7 separate regions of the Homo sapiens genome follow, and regions 1, 2, 3, 4, 6 and 7 are each linked to region 5. The links are contacts of gene promoters, found by promoter capture Hi-C in blood cells and fetal thymus (Javierre and others, 2016). All regions are on one chromosome and are shown on one strand. Each heading gives the region's core, a stretch centred on a gene start or on the middle of the fragment in contact. The rest is flanking DNA. Distances are from core to core; before and after follow the strand shown.

Evidence for each region. The method cuts DNA at HindIII sites, captures the fragments that hold promoters and counts their contacts. A CHiCAGO score of 5 or more calls a contact.
Region 1: the fragment with the promoter of IMPA1 here is called in contact with the fragment with the promoter of PEX2 in region 5 in 4 of 17 cell types (total CD8 T cells, total B cells, non-activated CD4 T cells and 1 more); the score reaches 7.8 in total CD8 T cells.
Region 2: a fragment that was not itself captured here is called in contact with the fragment with the promoter of PEX2 in region 5 in 1 of 17 cell types (naive CD8 T cells); the score reaches 5.1 in naive CD8 T cells.
Region 3: the fragment with the promoter of CHMP4C here is called in contact with the fragment with the promoter of PEX2 in region 5 in 1 of 17 cell types (non-activated CD4 T cells); the score reaches 8.8 in non-activated CD4 T cells.
Region 4: a contact is called between the fragment with the promoter of STAU2 here and the fragment with the promoter of PEX2 in region 5, in 1 of 17 cell types (total B cells). The highest score is 6.5, in total B cells.
Region 6: a contact is called between a fragment that was not itself captured here and the fragment with the promoter of PEX2 in region 5, in 1 of 17 cell types (total B cells). The highest score is 5.3, in total B cells.
Region 7: a contact is called between a fragment that was not itself captured here and the fragment with the promoter of PEX2 in region 5, in 1 of 17 cell types (non-activated CD4 T cells). The highest score is 7.8, in non-activated CD4 T cells.

What each region holds. Positions count from the first base shown.
Region 1 is chr8:81,685,031-81,687,929 of GRCh38, reverse strand. IMPA1 (inositol monophosphatase 1) reads left to right here and starts at 1,605. Exons shown (of 9, transcript NM_005536.4): 1 at 1,605-1,678. RefSeq lists an enhancer at 1,359-1,859. The HindIII fragment of the contact is 6,947 bases long and covers 1-2,899 here.
Region 2 is chr8:73,966,270-73,969,263 of GRCh38, reverse strand. All of the region lies in intron 1 of ELOC (elongin C), which reads left to right. Among named protein-coding and RNA genes, the nearest start is that of ELOC, 4.4 kb to the left of the region's middle. The HindIII fragment of the contact is 3,809 bases long and covers 1-2,994 here.
Region 3 is chr8:81,731,054-81,734,396 of GRCh38, reverse strand. CHMP4C (charged multivesicular body protein 4C) reads right to left here and starts at 1,949. Exons shown (of 5, transcript NM_152284.4): 1 at 1,581-1,949. The coding sequence starts at 1,770. The HindIII fragment of the contact is 11,241 bases long and covers 904-3,343 here.
Region 4 is chr8:73,745,453-73,748,649 of GRCh38, reverse strand. It overlaps STAU2 (staufen double-stranded RNA binding protein 2), which reads left to right and starts at 1,810. Exons shown (of 15, transcript NM_001164380.2): 1 at 1,810-1,867. RefSeq lists silencers at 1,308-1,597, 1,678-1,767, 2,058-2,237, 2,348-2,407. The HindIII fragment of the contact is 14,890 bases long and covers 1-3,197 here.
Region 5 is chr8:76,998,216-77,001,541 of GRCh38, reverse strand. PEX2 (peroxisomal biogenesis factor 2) reads left to right here and starts at 1,464. Exons shown (of 4, transcript NM_000318.3): 1 at 1,464-1,552. RefSeq lists an enhancer at 1,175-1,469. The HindIII fragment of the contact is 1,935 bases long and covers 1-1,493 here.
Region 6 is chr8:73,289,254-73,292,496 of GRCh38, reverse strand. RPL7 (ribosomal protein L7) reads left to right here. Exons shown (of 7, transcript NM_000971.4): 3 at 92-258; 4 at 587-724; 5 at 836-945; 6 at 1,245-1,454; 7 at 1,792-2,255. The coding sequence ends at 1,453. Among named protein-coding and RNA genes, the nearest start is that of RPL7, 2.8 kb to the left of the region's middle. The HindIII fragment of the contact is 3,218 bases long and covers 115-3,243 here.
Region 7 is chr8:81,846,418-81,849,619 of GRCh38, reverse strand. It overlaps LINC02235 (long intergenic non-protein coding RNA 2235), which reads right to left. Exons shown (of 8, transcript NR_170320.1): 3 at 513-629; 4 at 101-234. Among named protein-coding and RNA genes, the nearest start is that of LINC02235, 5.4 kb to the right of the region's middle. The HindIII fragment of the contact is 676 bases long and covers 1,290-1,965 here.

The DNA of each region.
Region 1 (2,899 bases), core at 356-2,855, 4.7 Mb before region 5:
CATATAATTTCTTCGTGGTCAGATTTTACATAGAAACACAGGGAGAATGCTAGAGTAATATCTATCTATCTATCTATCTATCTATCTATCTATCTATCTATCTATCTATCTATATCTCTCTCTCTATATATATATATTTTTTTTTTGAGACGGAGGCTCCCTCTGTCGCCCAGGCTGGAGTGCAGTGGCGCGATCTCCACTCACTGGAAGCTCCACCTCCCAGGTTCATGCCATTCTCCTGCCTCAGCCTCCCGAGTAGCTGGGACTGCAGGTGCCAGCCACCACACCCGGCTAATTTTTTTGTGTTTTTAATAGAAACGGGGCTTCACCGTGTTAGCCAGGACGGTCTCGATCTCCTGACCTCGTGATCCGCCTGCCTTGGCCTCCCAAAGTGGTGGGATTACAGGCGTGAGCCACCTTGCCTGGCCTAGAGTAGTATTTTTATGTTTTATGGCTGGCTTTATAAAAAAGGGGTCCTGATTTCTGGGACCTGATTTGGGAAAGAGGAATTCTAGCTTCTATGACTAGTCTGGGGAAGAATGTGGGACCAGAGACAGGAGACCAAAAGGAGTCAGAGGAAAATTTTTCCTTCTAAGGCTGCTTCTGAGGCCTTCATTGTGGGGTATCATTTTCTGAACCCCAAAACTTTGAACTCAGTGTGTTTCACTCTCTGCTCTTGCTGTGTGACCTGAGGACAAATCACTTAACTACTCTGAGCCTCAGTTTCCTCATCTGTCTGACAAAGCTAATCATACCTTTTTCAAGAAACTGTTAAAACTTTAAGGAAAATAATGCATATAAAAACACATTTCGGCCAGGCGTGGTGGCTCATGCCTGTAATCTTTGGGAGGCCGAGGTAGGCGGATCACTTGAGTCCAGGAGTTTGAGACCAGCCTGAGCAACATGGTGAAACCCCGTCTCTACAAGATACAAAAATTAGCCGGGCGTTGTGGCAGGCGTCTGTAATCCCAGCTACTCAGGAGGCTGAGGCATGAGAATCGCTTGAATCCAAGAGGCGGACGTTGCAGTGAGCCGAGATCGCGCCATTGCACTTCAGCCCGGGCGACAAAAGTGAAATTCCGTCTCAAAAAAACAAAACAATAAAACCCCACACAATTGCTTGAAGCATAGTAAGTCCTCAATAAATAGTATGTAAGTAAATTATCAAGAATTGGGCAGTTGGTTCTGGTTATCAGTTTATTTTTTTTTAATCTAGTATAGGTTTACCAGCTTTAGGTTAGCACCTAAAAGCTGCATAATCGGAATCATATCTGCAATCTGGGTTTTGTCAAAATAGTACTATAGAATAAATGGGAGAAAGAAGAAAGCAAGCTAAATGGGAAACCGTGAATGAATGGAGGACGAAAGAAGAAAAAGGCAAAGTAAAGAGAGAAGTAATGTTTAAAAACTGAGAGATGAAAAGACAAGCAGGAGAAAAGAACCAGAAGCTAGAATGAAGAGGCAGTATCCCATGCTCCAGCGCGGGTCAGGACCCGGCCCGGCCTGGCAGAGGCTCGCAGGGCGCAGCTCGGGGCGGGGCCCAGCAAAGCAACCACGCCCCCTCAGGAATGGAGTTTTTAAGGGCGGAACTTCCTGTTGCGAGTAGCCCCTCTACCTCCGGAAGAGACGAGTGCGGTAACACCGTTCACAGAGCTAGCCGGACGTCCTCCGACTCAAGGTGAGACCGTTATTTTCCTCACCGCACCCTCCGGGTTCAGCGGGCGCTGTGGGTTTCCAGGGAGGCCCCTTCCCTCCTCAGGAGCGGGCGCGAGCGCCGTGCGCGGTCGGCGCCTAGGGTGGAGGCAGCCTCTGGGTGACCCCTGCCTGCTGCGTTATCCGGAGCTGCCCTGGGCGACCGGGAACAGTTCCGGCATTGGAGTAGCGGTTCGCTCACGCGACCTCACTTAACCTCTGTGGCGGCTTCTGTGGAATAATTGCCCCTTTTTATGTCCCCAACTCCGAAAAGCTCCTAGAAACTTGGTGCATCCCCAGGCCCAGGTAGTCACTCTAAGTGATGGGGCAGCGCCCAGGTCCTGTGCTGCCCGCAGTCGCGGTGCTGGGACAGGTGGCAAAAAGGAAGGTGGCCTGGCTCCTACGCTGGAAGGCTGTGACCAGGACAGAAACAGCAGGAAACAGTTCAGGTGTTTATGGCTTTGGGAAAATGAAAGTGAGTAAACTACGGACCCTGCCCATCAATAAATGTACTGTGATTTATATATATATAACTATTCATATATTATATATAACTATATATAAAAATATATATAAAATGTACTTATATACTTTATATATAGTACATAAATATACTTATGTATAGTATATATACTTATATATAGTACATAAATATACTTCTGTATACTTATATATAGTACATAAATATACTTACGTATATATACTTATATATAGTACAGAAATATACTTACGTATATATACTTATATATAGTACAGAAATATACTTAGGTATATATACTTATATATAGTACAGAAATATACTTAGGTATACATACTTATATATAGTACCTAAATATACTTAGGTATATATACTTATATATAGTACATAAATATACTTACATATATACTTACATATAGTATATAAATATACTATATGTATAGTACATAAATATACTATGTATAGTATATATACTATATATACTATATATAGTATCTATACTTATGTATAGTATATATAGTATCTAAATATACTTATGTATAGTATATATAGTATCTAAATATACTTATGTATAGTATATATAGTATCTAAATATACTTATGTATAGTATATATACTATATATAGTATCTAAATATACTTAATGTATACTATATATAGTATCTAAATATACTTATTTATAGTATATATATCTAAATATACTTATGTATAGTATATATACTATATATAGT
Region 2 (2,994 bases), core at 322-2,821, 3.0 Mb after region 5:
CAGCAGTGCATGTACTGAAATGGGGAAGACAAAGGAAGGGAGTATCAGTTTCTGAGATTGATAAATCAGAAGTTCTATATGGGACTTACTGAGTTCGATAACTAGTAGACACCTGAGAATATGTGCAGTAGAAAAGTTGGATATTCACGACTGGCACTCGGGAGAAAAACTAGGGAGATGATCTGGGAGTCATATTTTATAGATGATAACCTCTGGTCTGGAGGACATCAAATAGGGAATGTTAAATGGAGAAGAAGGCAGATGACTGGGAGCACTCCAGTTAGAAGAGGAGCATACAGTAATGGAAGCAGAAAAGCCAGGAGTGTGTGACATCTGGAGTACTAAGGAAGAAATGTTTCAAGATGGAGGGAGTAGGCAATTGTATAAAACACTGCTAAATGAGGATTAAAAATTGACCATGTGACCAAGTGAAGTAGTTGAAATTTGATAAGAACCCCTAAAATGGACTGGTGGGCCAAAGGCTGATCAGAATAGGTTAAGAAGTGGATGGGAATAATGGCCATAGCAGAGTCTTTAGTTAGGTGACGGAATATCAATCATTGCTTAAGTGGAAAGGTTGACCTTTAGTAGGAAGGACAGTTTTTATTCAATATTTGAAATAGCAGGGTGGACAAAATATATAAACACAGGAATGCTGAAGATGGAGAGACAAGGCAACTGAAGTGATTGGTTTCAGTTTATTTTTAGCCTATCTTTCGAAAGGTTCTGTTAATATGTAGAATCTATGATTAATACACATTATATGTTGGGAATATCTGCTTATAATTTTAAAACTGAAACAAGGGAGTTTGGAGATATTATTTGAGAGAATAATTAGGTCGTTTGCAGGGGTGAGGCAGACAGACTCAGAACATGCAGCGCTCTGCAGCCCTTAAGTTCTGTGTTGTGGGAGGGCGACTCTGGGTAATAAACATGGGAAGCTGAGTTATAGGTGGTTGTCTGGGAAGGATGAATTTCAGATGGATTTAGTCATGAAATAGAGCCAGAATGGACTTTTGGACATAATTGAGTCCAATTGTCTCATTTGGAAGATGAAGAAACAGAAGTCCTATCACTTAATTTATCCGAGTCTCAAGATAGAAATGTCAAACAGAGTAGAAATTCAGATGTGGAGATGGATTCGGGTCTATATAAGGTAGCCATTGATTTTCATTCAACTGGGCTAGTTCTTAATTTATGATAAGAGATGAAAGCTGTGGACCTTCTCATGCCTCTTACTGTGAACTGCACATAGGCACAAAATTGTGCTTACAGATTGAAGGGTTTGGGATTCTACTGCTTATCTGTGAACCTCGAGGAATGGGGGACTGCAGATTAAGAACCTGCTAGAACAGAGTCAACAAGTTAGAACCACAGGCCACATCTGGCCCACTACCTGCTTTTATACTACCCGCAAGCTAAGAATGGTTTTTAAATGTTTTAATAGTTGGACAGAAATTCAAAGTAAATGTGTATTTTATAACATGAAAATTATAGGCCGGATGCAGTGGCTCACGCCTGTAATCCCAGCACTTTGGGAGGCCAAGGTGAGCGGATTACCAGAGGTCAGGAGTTTGAGACCAGCCTGACCAAATGGTGAAACCCTGTCTCCACTAAAAATACAAATAATTAGCTAGGCGTGGTGATGCATGCCTGTAATCCCAGCTACTCGGGAGGCTGAGGCAGGAGAATCACTTGAACCTGGGAGGTGGAGGTTGCAGTGAGCCAAGGTTGCACCACTGCACTCCAGCCTGGGTAACAAGAGCGAAACTCTGTCTCAAAAAAAAAAAAAAAAGAAAAGAAAATTATATAAAATGTACCCTTTTTTGCCCATAAATAAAGTTTTGTTGGATCATAGCCACACTCAATCGTTTACATCTTGTCTGTGGCTGCTTTTGCACTCCAGTGGCAGAGTTGGAGTAGTTGTAACAGAGACCTTACAGCCTGCTAAGCAAAAAATACTTATTTTTTGGCCCTTTAGTGTGTCAACCCCCACACTAAAAATGTAAATTCCAGGATACGGGTGGAGGAGAGGTTGTTGGATTTATTTTGTCCACAGATTCCTCCCAAGCATGTAGAGCAGTGCCTGGCACATGGTAGGCCCTTGATACATATAGAAATGAACCTCTGGTTCAAAAATAGAATAATGGCCAGTGTTTTAATGTGTGCTAGGCAGTATTCTGAGTGCTTTTATATGTAAAGCCATTTATTCTTCAGAACAGCTCTGTGAGGTAGATGCTGTATTATCCTCATTTTACCGTTGAAGAAACCAGGCAAGGAAAGATTAGGTTAGTTCTCCCGCAGTGACATAGCTAGGAGTTGACTGATTTTAAGCACTACATTATATGGAGGGCTGAAATCAAGTCTTCAGAAATGATAGCAGCAAAAGGATAGATAGGAGTGATGAAACAGGATAATGTAGCAAAGGAGGAATACATTCTTATGTAGTGTTGTTTACTATTATATTAGGCATTCAAGACCCATGTCTTGGGCTATGTGTGGTGGCTCACACCTATAATCGCAGCACTTTGGGAGGTCAAGGCAGGAGGTTTACTTGAGCTCAGAAGTTGGAGACCAGCTTGGGCAACACAGGGAGACCTCCACTTAAAAAAAAAAAAAAAAGAAATTTTAGCCGGGCTTGGTAGCAGGCTACTCAGGAAGAAGGTGGGAGAATCCTTTGAGCTCTGAAGGTTGAGGCTGCACTGAGCCAGGATTGCACAACTGTACTTCAACTTGGGTGACAGAGCAAGAACTTGTCTCAAAAAAAAAAAAAAAGACCCATGGCTTGGTCAGTATCTCAGTATGTGTTCCTTATGTGTCACTGTTCCCCTCTTTGATAAAGTCCAACTTCCCAAACTCTCACCTCTTTTCCTATCTTCCTACACTCTCTTCTTGACTCACTCATCTGGCCAGACTGTTCTCCTTGCCATTCTCCCTCCATAAAAAGCTGTTCCTTCAAATATCTGTGACTCATTCCCTTGCTTTCTTCAGATC
Region 3 (3,343 bases), core at 700-3,199, 4.7 Mb before region 5:
ATCGCGCCATTGCACTCCAGCCTGGGCAACAAGAGTGAAACTCTGTCTCAAAACAACAACAACCACCACCAATATTTGCTGAGCAACCATGGTAGACAAAGCTGTACACAGATCCAAATAGATGGCAAAGGGAAGAAAACCCTTGACAGACACTAAGCAAACGTCAGAGTGTGTATCAAACTGAAGAGGAAGGGCCAAGGAGCAAAATGACCAACAACATTTTTAGCAAGCCATAATGACATGGTCTTTCTTTAGAAATTGCCATTGCATAACTTCCCAGAATATTTTCAGACACAAAGTAAAAGTAGAAATCAGTACTTACCTCTAAAACAGGCTATAATATGCACAAAAGTTATATGCAATAAAACAGCCTTCTTATTGTTGGTGGTAAGTGGGCATAAATGTAGCTGGCACACTTTTACAGAAAGAGGCAGAGTTCTCAAGTTCATCTCCTTGAGACTTCATTCCTTTCCTGCATTAAACAATGGCAGCATCCTGTAGAGTGAGCCAAATCTTCCCAAGGCTTCATTATGACTAAAGAAGCCCAACTTGAGGGTGCAAATGTTTGGGTTTGGTGGTAAGCAGAGTCCGATATTGCCACTTCCTTTTCTGGGTCTGCCATGAACCCGGTGTTACAAGAGCAAATCACTTCAACTTCTCACTGAGTTTTTATCTGTGCCACAGGTGCTGTTTAGAGGTATTCCAATAGAAGGAGCAGTATACTGAAGAAATCAGTTAACTCTGGCAAAGAACAGGTGTTCAAGGTGCAACAGGAACACCAAGAATCATTACTGACTCAAAGTCTCTTGTGTGTGCCAAAAGTCAGTGATAGGAAATTTAATAATTAATTCCTCTACCTTTTTTTTTTTTAAGACTTCAACTGCCGAACATCCAGCTAAAGCTTTCCACAGCTGAGGAGCAAGGTAGACCACAACGTACTAGAATATCCTTTTCTGAAGATTTACGTGCAAGTTAAAATGTGTAATTTAATATACAAACATACAGCAGAAAACTTCATGGTTAGTGTTGGAGTCAGCAAGGCTGGCCTAGAAAAAGCTGGACCAGGAGCAAAATTTACAGGGGTGCGAAAACACTCAGTAATCAAGACAAATAATATTTTAATGCAATATTTTTAAAATTCAAAATTAATATTAAAAAATCCACGATGAACAAATCATCACATTATAAAAAATAATTTTAAATAAAGATGTGCTGCACATAACAACATAAGAGCTAGAGGCAAATGAAAAAAATCAATACCAATCTTGTCTTTATTTAAAATTTTGATATTTTCTTCATCATTTCTTTTTTGGCATTGGTTCTGAGTCCTTTAGGTATTGCATTAAAGTATTGTTCATCTTGATTACTGAGATTTTTGGCGGCCCCTTACATTTTGCCATCAGTGCCAGTGTCTAGCTCAACTCACCCTAGTCAGTGCCCTAAGAGTCAGTACCAGTTCCTAGAAAAGACTGCAGGAGCAAACCTGGCCACCTGGGGACCTCAGTGGTGTGGGCCGATTGTCCCCAAGGGAAAGGCTAGAGGCAGATGGGCTCCCGCCTGTGGGCCAGACCCCAGCCTACCTCGCTTATTCTGCGTGCCGTGCTTCTTGGCCAGGGCGATTTCTCTCTGGATTCGATTTTCCAGGTACTCTTGTTTCTTGCCCAGCATCTCCTCAGTCTCCCGAAGTCGGACCAGGGCCTCCTGGGGACTGGGAGCGGCTCGGCTCTTAGAAGAGCCGCCCCCTTTAAAGAACTTGCCCAACTTGCTCATTGCTGTGGAGTTCGGAGGGCCAGCGATCCCGGGGGCCTCTCGGGAGCTCCCCGGGGCCGCGCCGAGGGGACAGGTGAGCAAGGCAGTCCTCTCGGGGACCCAGACCGGAAAGGCGGCCCTCCTGGGAATCAACAAGTCGTCCTGGACAGGTGACACACACTCCAGGGCATTTCCTGGCTGCCAGTTCGGCCCCGCCCCGCTGCACAGCGGCTGGGCGGGGAGGCCACCGCTGGGACGTCGGCTGGCCGGCGCCACCCGGCCCTCTGGGAGTTGAGCGAGAGCAGAGAAAAGTTGAAAAGACCGACAAAGACTGTGGGAAGTTGGCTTTTATCCACACTAGGGACGGTCCCAGGAACGAGGAACTAGTTTGTGAATGGCTCAAAGAAAAGCAAACCGATGTCCAGGGGTCTTGTGCAGGACCTGAAAGTGTAAGTGCGCAAGACTGGATATGCAAAATGCTTTATTCCATGCGTGTCTTTTGTGTGTACGTGAGCATAGTGTTCCTGTATTCAGGCCTCTGTTCTTGTGAATAAGAATATTCAGATCTTTTCCTCTAAGTGTATGTCATGTAGGTATGAGTGTGTGGACACAAAGGCTTCCAGGATATTTGTCTGCCACTAGGATGCAGGTGTGTGGGCAAGCTCGGAGCAGCTGCTGCTACTGGGCTTGTTTCTGCATTTGGTAGTCCGGGCAGGTTGATGTGTGCCTGGATGCTAGTTGGCACAGTGTAGATTCTAGATCATCCTTACAGGACTTGAAGTGGGTGAAAGATGGTGGCCATCTCTTTTCCTAATGTCAGGACTTCTGGAGTGTGTTGGTGGTTGGATTCAACTCTATAACTAGGAATCCGAAGTTTTCTGAATGATCCTCAGTGTATCAAAAACCTTAAATGGGGCTGCCCTGGTGTTTGGCTGTATGTCAAATGCTATTACATAGATACTTAAGTAACAAAAAGTAGAGAATATCCTGGAGAAGAGAAACATTCTTTTGTTCATGCTCACTATCTCAGCCCATCTATTAGATCTGCTGGCAAATAATTTAGTAAGATGAAAGGACAGCCATATGTAATGCTTATAGATGATGCAATACTGCTGCAAACCTGTGTCAAGCACACTACAAAGAAGTGGAATTATCTGTGTTTTACTCTTCAACGATTGCCATGTGCTCTGCATAATATAGCCGTATTTGAGCAACGTTACCCAACATTACCAAAACCTATTTTTGATTGTTAGCCAGCCACTGTTTAAGAGAAAAAAAAAAAAAAAAAACACCCATTACTCTGACAAATTCACCTTGATACCCAAGATCAATAACACAATTTTGTCTGCAAGCATACAAACACAAAGCAGCAAGTTAATCTATTTATCCAACATTGGCATAGATAGCATAAAATTTTGCCAAAGAAATTGAACACTTCCATAGGAGGCTTACAGTAAGCATCTTCTAACACACAAATATGTGAACTTATCATTTCACAGTAACTGCAGCCAGCCACCTCCTATCATTTCCTGGCTGGCCATGTAAAGCATGTATGGTCTATAACACACATTTTGCTCTAATTTCATGTATAAGT
Region 4 (3,197 bases), core at 561-3,060, 3.3 Mb after region 5:
AAAAAAAAAGATTATATAGTTCTTTTACTGTAGGTTTTCTGTTTAGGTACAAATACCCTTGTGTTGCAAAATTGCCTACAGTATTAGTACAGTAACACACTGTACAGGTTTGCAGCCTAGGCGCAATAGCTATATACCATATAGCCAAAGCAAGTAGTTGGCTAGACTACCTAGGTTTGCGTAAGAACACGCTATGATGTGCGCAAAACAACAAAAATCGCTTAATGACACGTTCCTCAGAACATATCCTTGTGGCTAGGTAAGGCATGACTGTATTAGAATGCTGACTGGGTGCGTAAGCCGCTAGAAGGAGCACAGCAAATTTAGGGAGGATGCAACATGTTAAATCCGAGGGAACTGGCAGAGGTGAAAAGGGGGGAAAGGAGCATAGGAAAGAGTTCTGGGAGGAAAAATATAGCTGTAGCTAACATTGTACCAGGAGAGGTACTACATACCCGGTCCTATTTAAAGGGCTTCATATGTATTGTCACATTTAAATACGAACTATCTATCACATGTAGTCTCCTCTTGATGCACAGGATAAGTAACATGCCCGTGGTCTCCTCACCAGTTAGCAAGCGGATATCCAGCCTTGGTTATCTGACTCTGGCGCCCTTGCGGTTAACCAGGACACACACTACCTTCCCAGGTGCAGACATGAGATTGGTTTTAGATGATGACTGAAATCACCGGCCTGGGAGACATTTCTCAGTCAGAGAAGTGACACTGGGAAGAAACCCTAGAAATAACGTTGCAAACGAGTAAGTTTGTGAAAACACACTAATAGTTCTATTTCGAAATTTCTTTGTCAGATTATTTTTGGTGCCGGTTACTAAACGAAGTGTTCAGTTTCATTGAGCTTAACTGGGTTGAAGTTATCTAGACAAAAGTAATCCACATCAAAACCAGGACGAATTAAGACGTAATTTCTGTTTTCTGGCACTCTTGCCTCATAAATCTAGGATTCAGGGCATTGTTTTCAATGGTTCTCATTTTTGGCTCCAAGGATTCTTTTTCATGTGACTAATATTTTCGGTAGAAGAGGAGGTCTGGCCACGCCGCGGGTCTTGGCGAGCAGGTGATCACGGATCCCTGGTGTTTGCTGGGCGAGACGGTGAAGCAACCTCCTCCCCGCCCCCTCCCCCGTCTAGAAAGGTGCAAGATCCGCTAAACCGTGCGTTGCACAGCGGCGGCCGGAGCAGACGCGGGATGGTCGCGCGTCCCCTGCACAGCACAGAGGGGCAGCCGGAGAGCCTGGGAAAGGTACGAGCGGGGAATCAGAGCACAGGGTGCGGACCAGAAAGAGCAGACGGTCAGTCGGGCGGGGAAGGAAGTTGCCGAGTTGCAGGTGTGGAAGGGGCTGCCCCAGGCCCACCCTTGGCAGACGAGGGGGCGGGGAGTCGCGCCGGGGACGAGGAGACTGCGGACCGGGCGCGCTCCTTGCGCAGTCGCTCGCCCGCGTGCCCAAGCCCCCCGGGAATGGCCCTCGCCCAGGGGCCCAGCTCGCCGCCGCTAGCCCCGCAGAGCCTGCAGCTGCTGGGGCCCGGCAGCCGCCAGGGGGCGGGAGCTGCGTCGCGAACAATGGCCGCGCTTGGTCGCGGGCCGGCGGGAGGCGGAGTGGAGGTAGAGCCGGTGCCGGGCGCGCGCGCCGGCCGGGCGTGCTGGGGCGCGGGAGCGGCTGCGCAGGCGGGGGCGCGCGGCGCGAGCGCGGGAGGGCGCGGCGGGAGCGCCGGGGAGGCGGGCGGAGGCGGGCGGAGGCGGGGGGCGGGGAGCCCGAGGGGTGGAAGCCGGCGGCGGCCGAGCGGGGTCAGTTCTCTGTAGTGTTTGCCAATGTTGGAGCCGTCTGCAAAGTGTCCCCGGCAAGAAGGTAAATACCCTCATCGGGGGCGTCCGGGAGACCCCGACTTCCGCGCCGCCGGCGAAGAAGGCAGAGGGCGCTGGGGAGCCCTGCAGTTCCGCAGCACGGGGAACCCGGAGAAAAGCAGCCCCCTTCGCGGCCTCCCCTCCCCCGCGCCTTCCCTCCCACATCGGGCTCTCGGGGCAGCAGCGGGGAGGGGAGACCGGCGGGGGAGGGAGGACAGGGAGGCGAAGGAATTGGGGTGGGGGGTGCGTGTGTGGTGGAGGGGGTGGGACGACACAGGTGTCCTGAGGGGAGGAGCCGGGAGGAAGGCGAGGAGGCCGGGCCAAGTGGGGGTGCGGAGGTCGGGGAGACAGGAACGCGGCTGCGGGCGCGGGAGGCTGGGGTTCTAGGGGGCCGGGGTGGTAGCGGCCGGAAGAGAGGACGGCGAGTGCAGCCACGGTGTGGCTGCGAGGGAGAGGGAGCGCCTAGAGTAGGGCAGGGGAGGGCGGCCCGGGGAGGGTCTGCGGGAAATGGGCCTGGGGGCGCTGGAGGCGGAGCGGCGGGGCCGGGGCGCGCCGGAGGGTGGCGGCGGCAGCTATTTCTGTAGAATGGGCTAGTGGTAAAGACGTAACTTGCCGAAATGGGGAGGGTAGGTGGGGCCGAGGGGACAAAATATATCCTATGACAGGCAAGTTCTGCTGTGGCTGTTACGAACTCCTACCGTGATGGCTCGGCTTAAAGGGGTAGTTGGCGGTAGTGACCTTGCCGGGGTGAAGGGAGTTGGGCGAGGAGACAAAGCTCAGTTACGGAATCCGCTGTGTGAGAGCAGGAACTCTAGTCTCTTCGGGGTCGAGCCGGGGGCTGTGGCTTGGGGGCTGGGGGTGCTCCGCAGAGGCCATTGAGAAGCACGCCACTCTGGGATTCTTAGGGAGGCGGTGGGGGTAATGGCCGTGGGATTCTGGAAGTCTTTGGAAATGTGTGTAGAATTTTGCATTTGTGAATAATTTTCTTTGGTAAGGGTCCATATTTGCTGTGATGTCCCCTTACCCCCATCCCCACTCCAAAGGGTTAAGAACTGCTTGAGCAGATAGAGAGGGACCATTCAATTAGGGTAGACCTGGGAATTTACCAAAGGATTTTAAAGTGGGTGGATCCTGCAGAAAGAAAGGCTAGAGATGATCCTTTAAAGATATTTTACTGTTAATTGAAAACGTTTTTTATTTAATGTTTGCTTTCACAATTTTGGTGAACTTTTGCTGAGCATTACTTGGCTTCTGATGCATCCTGTGTTTCAGACCAGCATCGTGAATACTTGAAATCAAAATTGTGATGGACAGGCAGGGTGATAGTAACCTTG
Region 5 (3,326 bases), core at 215-2,714:
AGAAATATAATGGAAGCCACGTAATTTAAAATTTTCCAAAACATTCTCATTTTGACATGTAAGCAATATAAAATTAATGAAATACTTTACATTCTTTTTCTTTTCAGACCACGCTTTAGAAATCTGGTGCATGTTCTACACTTAGAGCAGACCTCAGTTCAGACTAGCCACTTTTCAGGTGGCCAGTGACTACTACACTGGACAGTTGCAGCTCTAGAAAATCCACTCCCAAACCCCTAAGTGAACTACATACTCTATCAATTTGTAGCTTCTACTCTATCTCATTTGTACCATTGTTTCACAATTTGGATAGCATTAGAGTTAATAAATTTTATTTTAGCAACTCTGCTCCATGGGTAGTTTCTGAAATAAAAATACAAGCAAAAAAAAAAAAACTTTCCTAATAACACTGGTTCTACAGTATAAGCTCTCCCTCGAATGTCTAATAGAGCTTTCGTAGAAGTGAGTGTTCCTTGTAGGAACGGTGAGTCGAGACTGGAGGTAAGAACTAAGACGTTCTTAAACCCTACTACGTGCTGGAATCCTGAAGTGCCTGCCATCATTCAAACTTAAGCACTAACTCTCTAGAGAGACACTGCCATTCATACCACAGAACGAGAAGGCAGTGGCGATCCTCAACGGCTACATGTCACTGCCTGGTGAGCACTCTTCCCTCAGACCCCATTCCCAGAAGCTCTGCCTCGATTCCCCAGGGGTAGGCGAGCTGGCTGCCCGAATTCCTAAGCGTTACCGGGGAGATGTGAGGGCCTCCGGGGGCGGGAAACCTCAGGCCAGGCGCGCGCTGGCCCGCTCTACGGGGTCTCTCGGGAGCGCTTTGCAGGGCGGATGACTGACGGGCCAGCTACCTGCCTTCCTGAGCCTGCAGAGATAAACAGCCTATCCTCCCTGTGCACACAGGCCCCGAGGGCGGGCAGGTCTCCAAGCGCAGCACAACTGCCCCAGGCCCGACGCAGCCACCTGCCCGAGGGCTCCCTCCCCACCAGGCCATCCCTCAGCCGGTCCTCCTCCGACAGCGAACAAGGAACCCCGGAGGCGCGGAGGCGTCTCGCCGCCACCCGGCGGCGCCTGCCAGAGGCCCTTCGCGATGTCCGCAAGCAGAGAAAGCCCTGCCCTCCCAAGCCCCGGCTTCCCCTAGGCCCCTCGACACTTGTAGTGTCCTCACTTGCGGCCCCTGACCCGGGGCTGACCGGTTCGTGACTCTCCTGCCAATCAGAGACAGAGTTCTTCCGGCCAACCGGCCAATCACCGCGCGCGGGTGTCCGCTTCGGCTTTTCGGCCCTTCGGCTCTTCGGCTTGTCGGCGTTCGCGGTTGTTTGGCCATCCAGTGCCTTCAGCAGCGCCGCTAAAGCGCAGTTCTCGTTGGTGTAACTTTTTCTTTTTTTTTTCAGCCACTTCCGGCTCCTGCGTCGCTCCGGAAGCCTGCGAGTTCCGGAAGCCTTGGTAATCCAGATTCGGCTAGGAAAAGACAAGCTTTCCAGAGAATGTTTCAGAGAAAGTTACGTGGAGCGTGGGCGTTTCGCAGACTCCTAAGGTCAGTGTCTGCCCTAGAGAGCCGGAGTGCAAACCCGAGGTCTTGTTTTCAGCTGGGAGGTCGTGGAGTTTCACGACCTTGTAATTGTCGCCGTTTGCTTTTTTTTCCCTGTTTATTGGCTTCCTGTCTCCCTGGAAAAGGCAAATCAAAGCTGCTGAATTTTGGGAAAGGCAGTGAAGCAAACCTAAACTCCTAAAGATGTTTTTAGGATCGCGGCATTAAAAATAAACACACACACAGCTGCAGTTGAGCCCCTCTGCATTCCACGTAGTAACTTAAGAGACGAACTTCGAAATCTTTTTCTCTCATTTGGCGGTCGTGAAGATATTTACCTCTTATAAACGGCTTTATAAAGAATTGAGGATCCAAACTTTACTTAATATCTGAAAGTTCATGTAAAGTGTTATATGTAGTACAAAAAATTTGAGTGCTTAGTTTTCTAACACTGTTGAAAGCGCACGTAAATGCAGTTTGGTTTTCTTATGGAGGAAGAGATAATGAAAAGTTTCTGATAAAATTGCTTGCGATAAATTAGTTATATTTCACGTTGACTTTTGATAAGAAATCTGAATGTGAGAATTGTTAACATTTTTTCCTGGGTTCTTAAATTAAAAATCGTTGTTTGTTTATTTATTGAGGTACCATTTTCCAAATTTCCCACATTTAGTGAAAGGGCTTTTGGCAAAATGAGCAAGCTGTTGAACGTTCAAGTCTAACACATTCTGTTAAACTTCCGTGATGCCCCTCGGAAATATTTTATCTTGACGTTTCGGACAATTAAATGATACTTGGGCGCTCACAACACCGCAGCTTGTAGTCTAAACACCTTCCCCTAAAGTGTTACCTTTACTTAATCCTGAACAGAATGAACTTGGGGTGGCTCTTTTAACTTATCTGATCTCACCTATATTATCAATTACTTGTTTCCAGAAAGATTACAGTTGAGTGATCTTGAGCCAGAAAGAGATTTGAAAGAATTATTTACAGAGTCAAAAAAAAAAACCCTTCATATTTTTTTCTTAAAAAAAAAAATAGAAGTAACAGGACATAGAGCGAATACTAGACTAGTAGACTGAAGAGTATTAGACTAAATCAAGACAGTTGGATTCTAGTCCTGACTCTAGTTGCCTTTGTACAATTTTACCTCTTGGCCGTATTCTCCTTATTTTTAGAAACTAGTGTTAGTACTCAAGCTGGGGTTTTAAAACTGTTCCATAGGAGAACTTGTGTAGAAATTTTCTGGAGCCGTGCAGGGAGAGACAAAGCAAGCCCACCCTCAGGTTTATTTTAACAAGAGCAGCCATTTAGGTGTTCCGCTTGAATAACAAGGTTCTTGTTAAGAAGATTAAATTTATGTCTTAAACGAGATGATCTGCCTTTTCTTCTAGCATTAAAATTCTGGTTTTTGGGATAATTATTCATTTGTACTCAATGTACATTTATTACAGTTTTTAAAAATAATATATTCACAGCTAATTTATTTCTAAAAGCTACAAATATGTCCCTATTCTGTTTCAATTTATTTTATCAATACAAATTTGAAATGTTTTTCTTTATGAACAGAATTAGAATTTATTATTCCTTCTTCTCCATATCCTTTTATTTTAGCCATAAAAGTTTTGCTTATATTTGATGCACATAATGATTCTTGCCGTAGGGAGGACAAGTATTTTTCATTTTACATATTTGGTACCTGAACGTTAAAGGTATTAGCAGGCTTGCTCATCATCACACCCATTAAAAGAGCTCAGTCCTAGCCCCATGTTTTTCTCAC
Region 6 (3,243 bases), core at 474-2,973, 3.7 Mb after region 5:
AAGGAAACATGTTGTAGTTTTCTTTTTAATGATTGGCATTGCTAATTGTGATTGAGCTAAAAATTATGAATAACTGATTATTGGTTTTCAGCTTCGAAAGGCAAGGAGGAAGCTTATCTATGAAAAAGCAAAGCACTATCACAAGGAATATAGGCAGATGTACAGAACTGAAATTCGAATGGCGAGGATGGCAAGAAAAGCTGGCAACTTCTATGTACCTGCAGAACCCAAATTGGCGTTTGTCATCAGAATCAGAGGGTAAGTTCAGTTTTACTGCATTCGGGTTTGAATGGGAAAAAAAAAAAAAACCTTCACATTACTTCTGGGAGCCCTGATTCTGAAACACCGGAGTAACAATATTTTAGGGGAAGCTAGAACAAGGAGGGTGCTGATCACTAATGGTTTAGTTGCAAGCCATGTTCCCCAAGCTCCTATCCCTTCTCTTAATAGAATACAGAAATTCAGTGTGTAACATGAGAGGATTCCTATCTGTTTAGGTAGGATTCGATATTCAAAACTATAATGGTTAGTATTAATAAAAATTTCGATGAAAGGCAAATGCATTTCTGGTCCGTTTTCACCACAGTATCAATGGAGTGAGCCCAAAGGTTCGAAAGGTGTTGCAGCTTCTTCGCCTTCGTCAAATCTTCAATGGAACCTTTGTGAAGCTCAACAAGGCTTCGATTAACATGCTGAGGATTGTAGAGCCATATATTGCATGGGGGTAAGTCTCTTTTCTCCTTTGATTTCTATTTGATAAATTGGTTATGTAGCAACATGAATTTTAGATGTTTTAACAGTGGTCACCTTATTTATGTTTGCTTTTTCACTTCAGGTACCCCAATCTGAAGTCAGTAAATGAACTAATCTACAAGCGTGGTTATGGCAAAATCAATAAGAAGCGAATTGCTTTGACAGATAACGCTTTGATTGCTCGATCTCTTGGTAGGTTCTATTTGGGGGAAAATTTGGTATTAGACCATGCGATAATTTCTTACCCTCTTGTGGCCGTACATTTCTCACTATTGTGAATCTTCATGTGTTCCCTATGATTCTTGATTTAGCTTAAAAGAAAACGTAAGACATGGTTTCATTAGCTTGAACCTTATCTTTGTAAAGCCATGCATTTACCTTGTTTATTCCTGGTTATGTTTTCATCTCACAGCCTATTCAAAAAGATTTTGAATAATTATTTCAAAACTTTTTGCAACTTTAATAATCTTAAATAACCTTAAAATATTTAGGTAAATACGGCATCATCTGCATGGAGGATTTGATTCATGAGATCTATACTGTTGGAAAACGCTTCAAAGAGGCAAATAACTTCCTGTGGCCCTTCAAATTGTCTTCTCCACGAGGTGGAATGAAGAAAAAGACCACCCATTTTGTAGAAGGTGGAGATGCTGGCAACAGGGAGGACCAGATCAACAGGCTTATTAGAAGAATGAACTAAGGTGAGAGACCTCATCCTGAGAAAGGTTGAGTTAATGTTAGAGTATAAGTGGTGGTAATCTTGAATACTTTTCCCATTAAATATTGATGGGGGTTTGAATTTTAATCAGTGCTTTTGTGGGGAGTGGGGGTCAACTATCTTAATGATTACAGTTGGTTTGTTTACTGCTTTTGAGGACCTTTCTGGAGGAAAGGAAAAGCCTGTTTTGGGGAGTCTTTAAAGATGGAAATTGGGTGGTCTTAAAAATGTAAACTCAATCATTACTTTATAACTGCCTAGTTTATGTTAATTGTTAGCTGCCTAAAGTGTTTTCTAATGGTTTTCTTTTTTCCTTTCAGGTGTCTACCATGATTATTTTTCTAAGCTGGTTGGTTAATAAACAGTACCTGCTCTCAAATTGAAATATATTGTTGTATTTGTGATTTGTTGTTGTTGTTGTTAGCCTGCCTCTGTCTTCCCTTAACTACTGTGGCAAGTGTGGTGTGTGATAAAATTAAGCCAAATCAACAGCCCATTTCGTGCAAAATCAGGGTCGAGTCTGTGTGAAAGACATCTCTTGGGTTTTTAAAAGGCTTTTCTATACAAAAGATTTTAATTTTTTGTTTTTTAACTGTGCTGAGTGATTCGAAATGGGTTTATTCTAAGAAAGCCTGTTTCACAAGCATTTGTACATGATTTGTCGGTAAGGTAATCCAACTTTGGTTTATGGAAAAAATTGAATTTAGTTGCTAAAATTTATTTCTCGGGCCTTCGCTTGTTTATAAACTGCCATGTAAATGTGTTGTTTTCCTTTTGCATTCCATTTTTGTGTTCTTGTTTTGCATCTTTTGCCATACTTACGTGAGTTACTAATAATTGTTACATACTGTGGGTATTATGAAGGAAGGCATGAAATTTGTGCCCAGGGATGCAAATTATTTCAGAGCATCTGATGAAATTAATGGGCAAAAACTTCAAAGGTTTTTTTGTAAATAACATTCCTTTATACTTCATGTATTGTTTCACCTAGACTAGTGAACAATGTAGAGTGTAACATGAAGTACATAGAATGAGAGTAAAAATGTTTGTGGTCCTCATTTAGTTGTCAAAGTTCTGACACACTGAAACAGCTCCCTTAGTAATTATTTTGGTACTACTGCTCCACAGTCATTTATTGCTTTTTAATATTCGAAAGTTGCTAGACAAATAGAATTTCTTTGAGTTCTTTGTTCCTGGTTTTGGGACCTATTTCTCTGGCTTAGTAAGTTTGTTTAGGGTCAGTGAATTTTGGAGAGAAATCAAGATGATCGTTTATAAAAATCATTTTACATATTTATGATTGTATCAGTGTTTTGCTAGATGTTTTTTGTCTTAGCAGTTGGGTCAATATTTTGAAATAGTACATGGATATCTAGGTAGAGCCAAAGAGTTTATTTTTTAATTTTCCTTTGTAGAGATGAGATCCACACCAGCCTGTATTCCCCAGCATGTTACTGAACTCCTGGCCTCAAGCAATCCTACTGCCTCAGTCCCCTGAATAGTTGGGATTACAGGCATGACCCACTGCCTCCAGAGGGTTTTTAAGTTATAAATTCAGTTTTGTCTTACTGCTTTGGTAGATAGAGAGTACAGTTCCCAGTGTTAGCACATCCAGTGTCATGAAGGGTAGTTGTGCCTCAGAAGATGTCAGAGCCTGTTTGGCTTCCAGGTTTTAGAGGAATAGTGAGGGCCATCAGTGGCCTCTGCAGGGTCAGAATTAAGACTAATTATGGAATGAAGTTGTACAGATGGTGTATTGCTTGCTTAATCTA
Region 7 (3,202 bases), core at 378-2,877, 4.8 Mb before region 5:
CCCTGAGAGATGTGATTCCCATAAATCTTTATGGGAAGCAGAGGGATTGATGGTCTTTCTTCTGTAGCTGCTTCATGCTAACTTGGGGTGCAATCCCTACCTATTGCTGATCATGGAAATTTTTCCCTGCTCTATCCAGTGGAGGCAGGGTAGTTTATTGATCGCTGGGGGTGCTATCTTCATTTGGAACTGGCTGGCAATGTTGTTGCATGATCATATGAAGCTCAATGGTCTCTAGGTGAGAGGAAATGAATTTGGTTAAAAGATCTAATGGGAACTTCAGGGGGTGGATACCTATGCTATCAGGAATGTTTGTTATAGGGAGAAATTAAAACATTCTGCTTAATTGCTACAAAGGGAGTGATTCCAAACATTTGAAAAAAGAAAAACTGCAAAAATATATAAAAATATGGCTATTATTATCCAGCCAAATATATAAAAATATGGCTATTATTATCCAACCTACAATAACTATGCAACAAAAACACCAAGGAAAGTTGGTAGGCATTTACTTATCTTTTGGCTGTCTTCTAAACAGGCACTTCAGGTCTTCCACAGGTTCACAGGTGTAGTGGCTGAAGGAAACTTCAGGTTCCAGGTCTGAGGCTTCAGGTATCACAGACTTGATCCTTGAAAGATGTATCCAATTATTTAAATCCTAATACTTTGACCATGGAAAGCATGGCCAGCACCACTGAAAATGTTCCCTTCCATTTGGGCTGTAGTTGTTGAGCAGGCGATCCCTCCTTCCAAGTTTTAACAAGTATCTTATCTCTTGGCCTGATTTTGGGATGCTGGTTAGCTCCTGGTATGGGGAACCTTTGAGTTCCAAACTTTTGTGAAAGCCTGCTGAAATTGTCCATTAACTAGGTATTTCACTAAACCAGCTGTTTCTGGATCAGTAATTAGATCATTAGTTAAGAATGGCCTTCCGTATAACATTTCATATGGGTTTATGTTAATTTTTGCTCTAGAGGTATTGCAGATCCTTAAGAGGGCTATAGTCAGTAAGCTGACCCAAATTTCTGATGTTTCCTAACATAGCTTACCTAATGCTTGTTCTAGAGTTTGGTTAACCCTTTCTACTTTCCCGAAGAATTGAGTCCTCCATGCTGAATGTAAATAGTATTTGATTCTGAAGGTCTTAGCGACCCCTTTAGTTATTTGGGAGATAAAGGATGGGCCATTATCTCTTTGGAGACTCTGAGGTTACCCAAACTAAGGGACTATTTATTTGTAAGAGAAACTTTATAACCTCAATAGCCTTCTCTGTTCTGGTAGGATAAGCTTCGACCCAACCAGTAAAGGTATCTATCAGGACTAACAAAAACTTGTATCCTCTACAAGCGGGCATTTGGGTGAAGTCTAATTGACAGTGTTCCCCTGGGTAAGTTCCTCTCCTCTGGACTGATTCTATTAGAGGAAGCATTTTGTTTCCTGGACTGTTAAGTGCACACAGTGAGCAGGATTGACAGACCTGCTTAACCACTGAATCTAAGTTAGGCCCAATGAAGAGCCTGTTAACCATGGCCAGGGTGGCATCTCCACTGGGCTGTTTGAGGGAGATTTAGTTTGATTCCATATACCACCCGGATACTTATTTTTGTCCCCCTTGTTCCTTTATTAACTGTTCTTCCTATAGCGTGTATTCAGGATCCATTCAGGAATCATAGAAAGGAAGCAGTGCTAGGATCTGTTGGGATTGCACCCTGAGGGATACGGCTTTAGCTTCTCTATCAGCCCTTCTGTTCCCTTGTGCTATAGGAAGTAAGTCCCTTTGATGCCCCCTACAATGGATTATAGCTACAGCCTTTGGCAGGTGTATTGCTTCCAACAGCTGAAGAATTTCAGGCCCGTGCTTTATTGGGGAGTATTTGCTATTTAGTAGTCCCTTTTCTTTCCAGATTGTAGCATGAGCATGAAACATAAGGAACGCATATTTAGAATCTGGATAGATGTTAAGCTTTTTCCTTTGTCTCAACATTAGTGCTCAGGTAAGAACAATGATTTCAGTATTTTGTGCTGATGTGCCAGGGGGCAGTGGCTGGGCTTCAATAATGGTGTTGTGATTTACCATTGCATATCCAACTCAGCACTCCCCATTTGACACAAAACTACTGCCATCTGTGAACCAGTTATCTTCAGAATCTGGGAGAGGCTAATCTTTTAAATTAGGCCAGCTAATATATGTGTGTACAATGACCTGCTCACAGGAATCATCAGTTATTGGGCCTGTGGGTAGCAATGAAGCTGGATTCAAGGTGTTACAAGTTTTAAGGGTTACATCTGGATTGTCTAGCAGCATGGCCTGGCATATGTTTAACCTTTCCTCCATCATCCACATGTGTCCTTTTATCTCTAAGACTGGCTTTACCTGATGGGGGGTTAGAACTTCCAGTGGTTGGCCCAGGGTGATTTTAGTGGCTTCCTCCACAAACATAGCAGTGGCTATTGCCTGCAGGAAACTTGGTCATCTCGAGGCTGCTCCATCCAACTTCCTTGAAAAGCAGGCAGTTGGTCTGGGTTCTGATCCTAATTTCTAGGCTAGCACTCCCACAGCTACGCCCTTCTCAGCTACATACAAGAAGGGCTTAGTTATGTCTGGGATGCCAAGAGCAGGAGCCTGGTAAGGGCCTATTTTAGCTTGGTGAAGGCTTCTCATTTCTGGGGTCAATTCCGTTAGCTCATTTTCAGGCCTCCTTGTTGCTTCATATACGAGCTTTGCTACAAGCCCCAAATTTGGTACCAATATTCTGCAAAACCCAGCCATTCCCCAGAAAGAACAAAGCTGCGCTTGGTGGCTGTGGGGCAACCACATATGGCTTGCACTCATTCTGGGGATATTTGTCGGGTTCCCGGTGTTAAGACATACCCTAAATATTGGATCCATTGGAGGGTAATCTGAGCCTTCTTTTTGGACACTTCACATCCTCTGTCAGCCAGGAAATTCAACGTTTTTATAGTATTTTGGTCAGAAGCCTCCTGGGTTGGGCTACACACAAGAAGTTCAACCACATACTGGAATATACTTCCATTCTCCAATTGCAGATCCCTCAGATCCCTCTCTACAGATCAGGCTAAGAAATCAGGGCTATCCTGAAAGCCCTGAGGGAGTACTGTCCAAATGTATTGTTTTTTTTTTTTCTGGTATTAGGATTTTCCCATTCAAAGGCAAAAAGGTATTGGGATTCTGGGGCCAGAG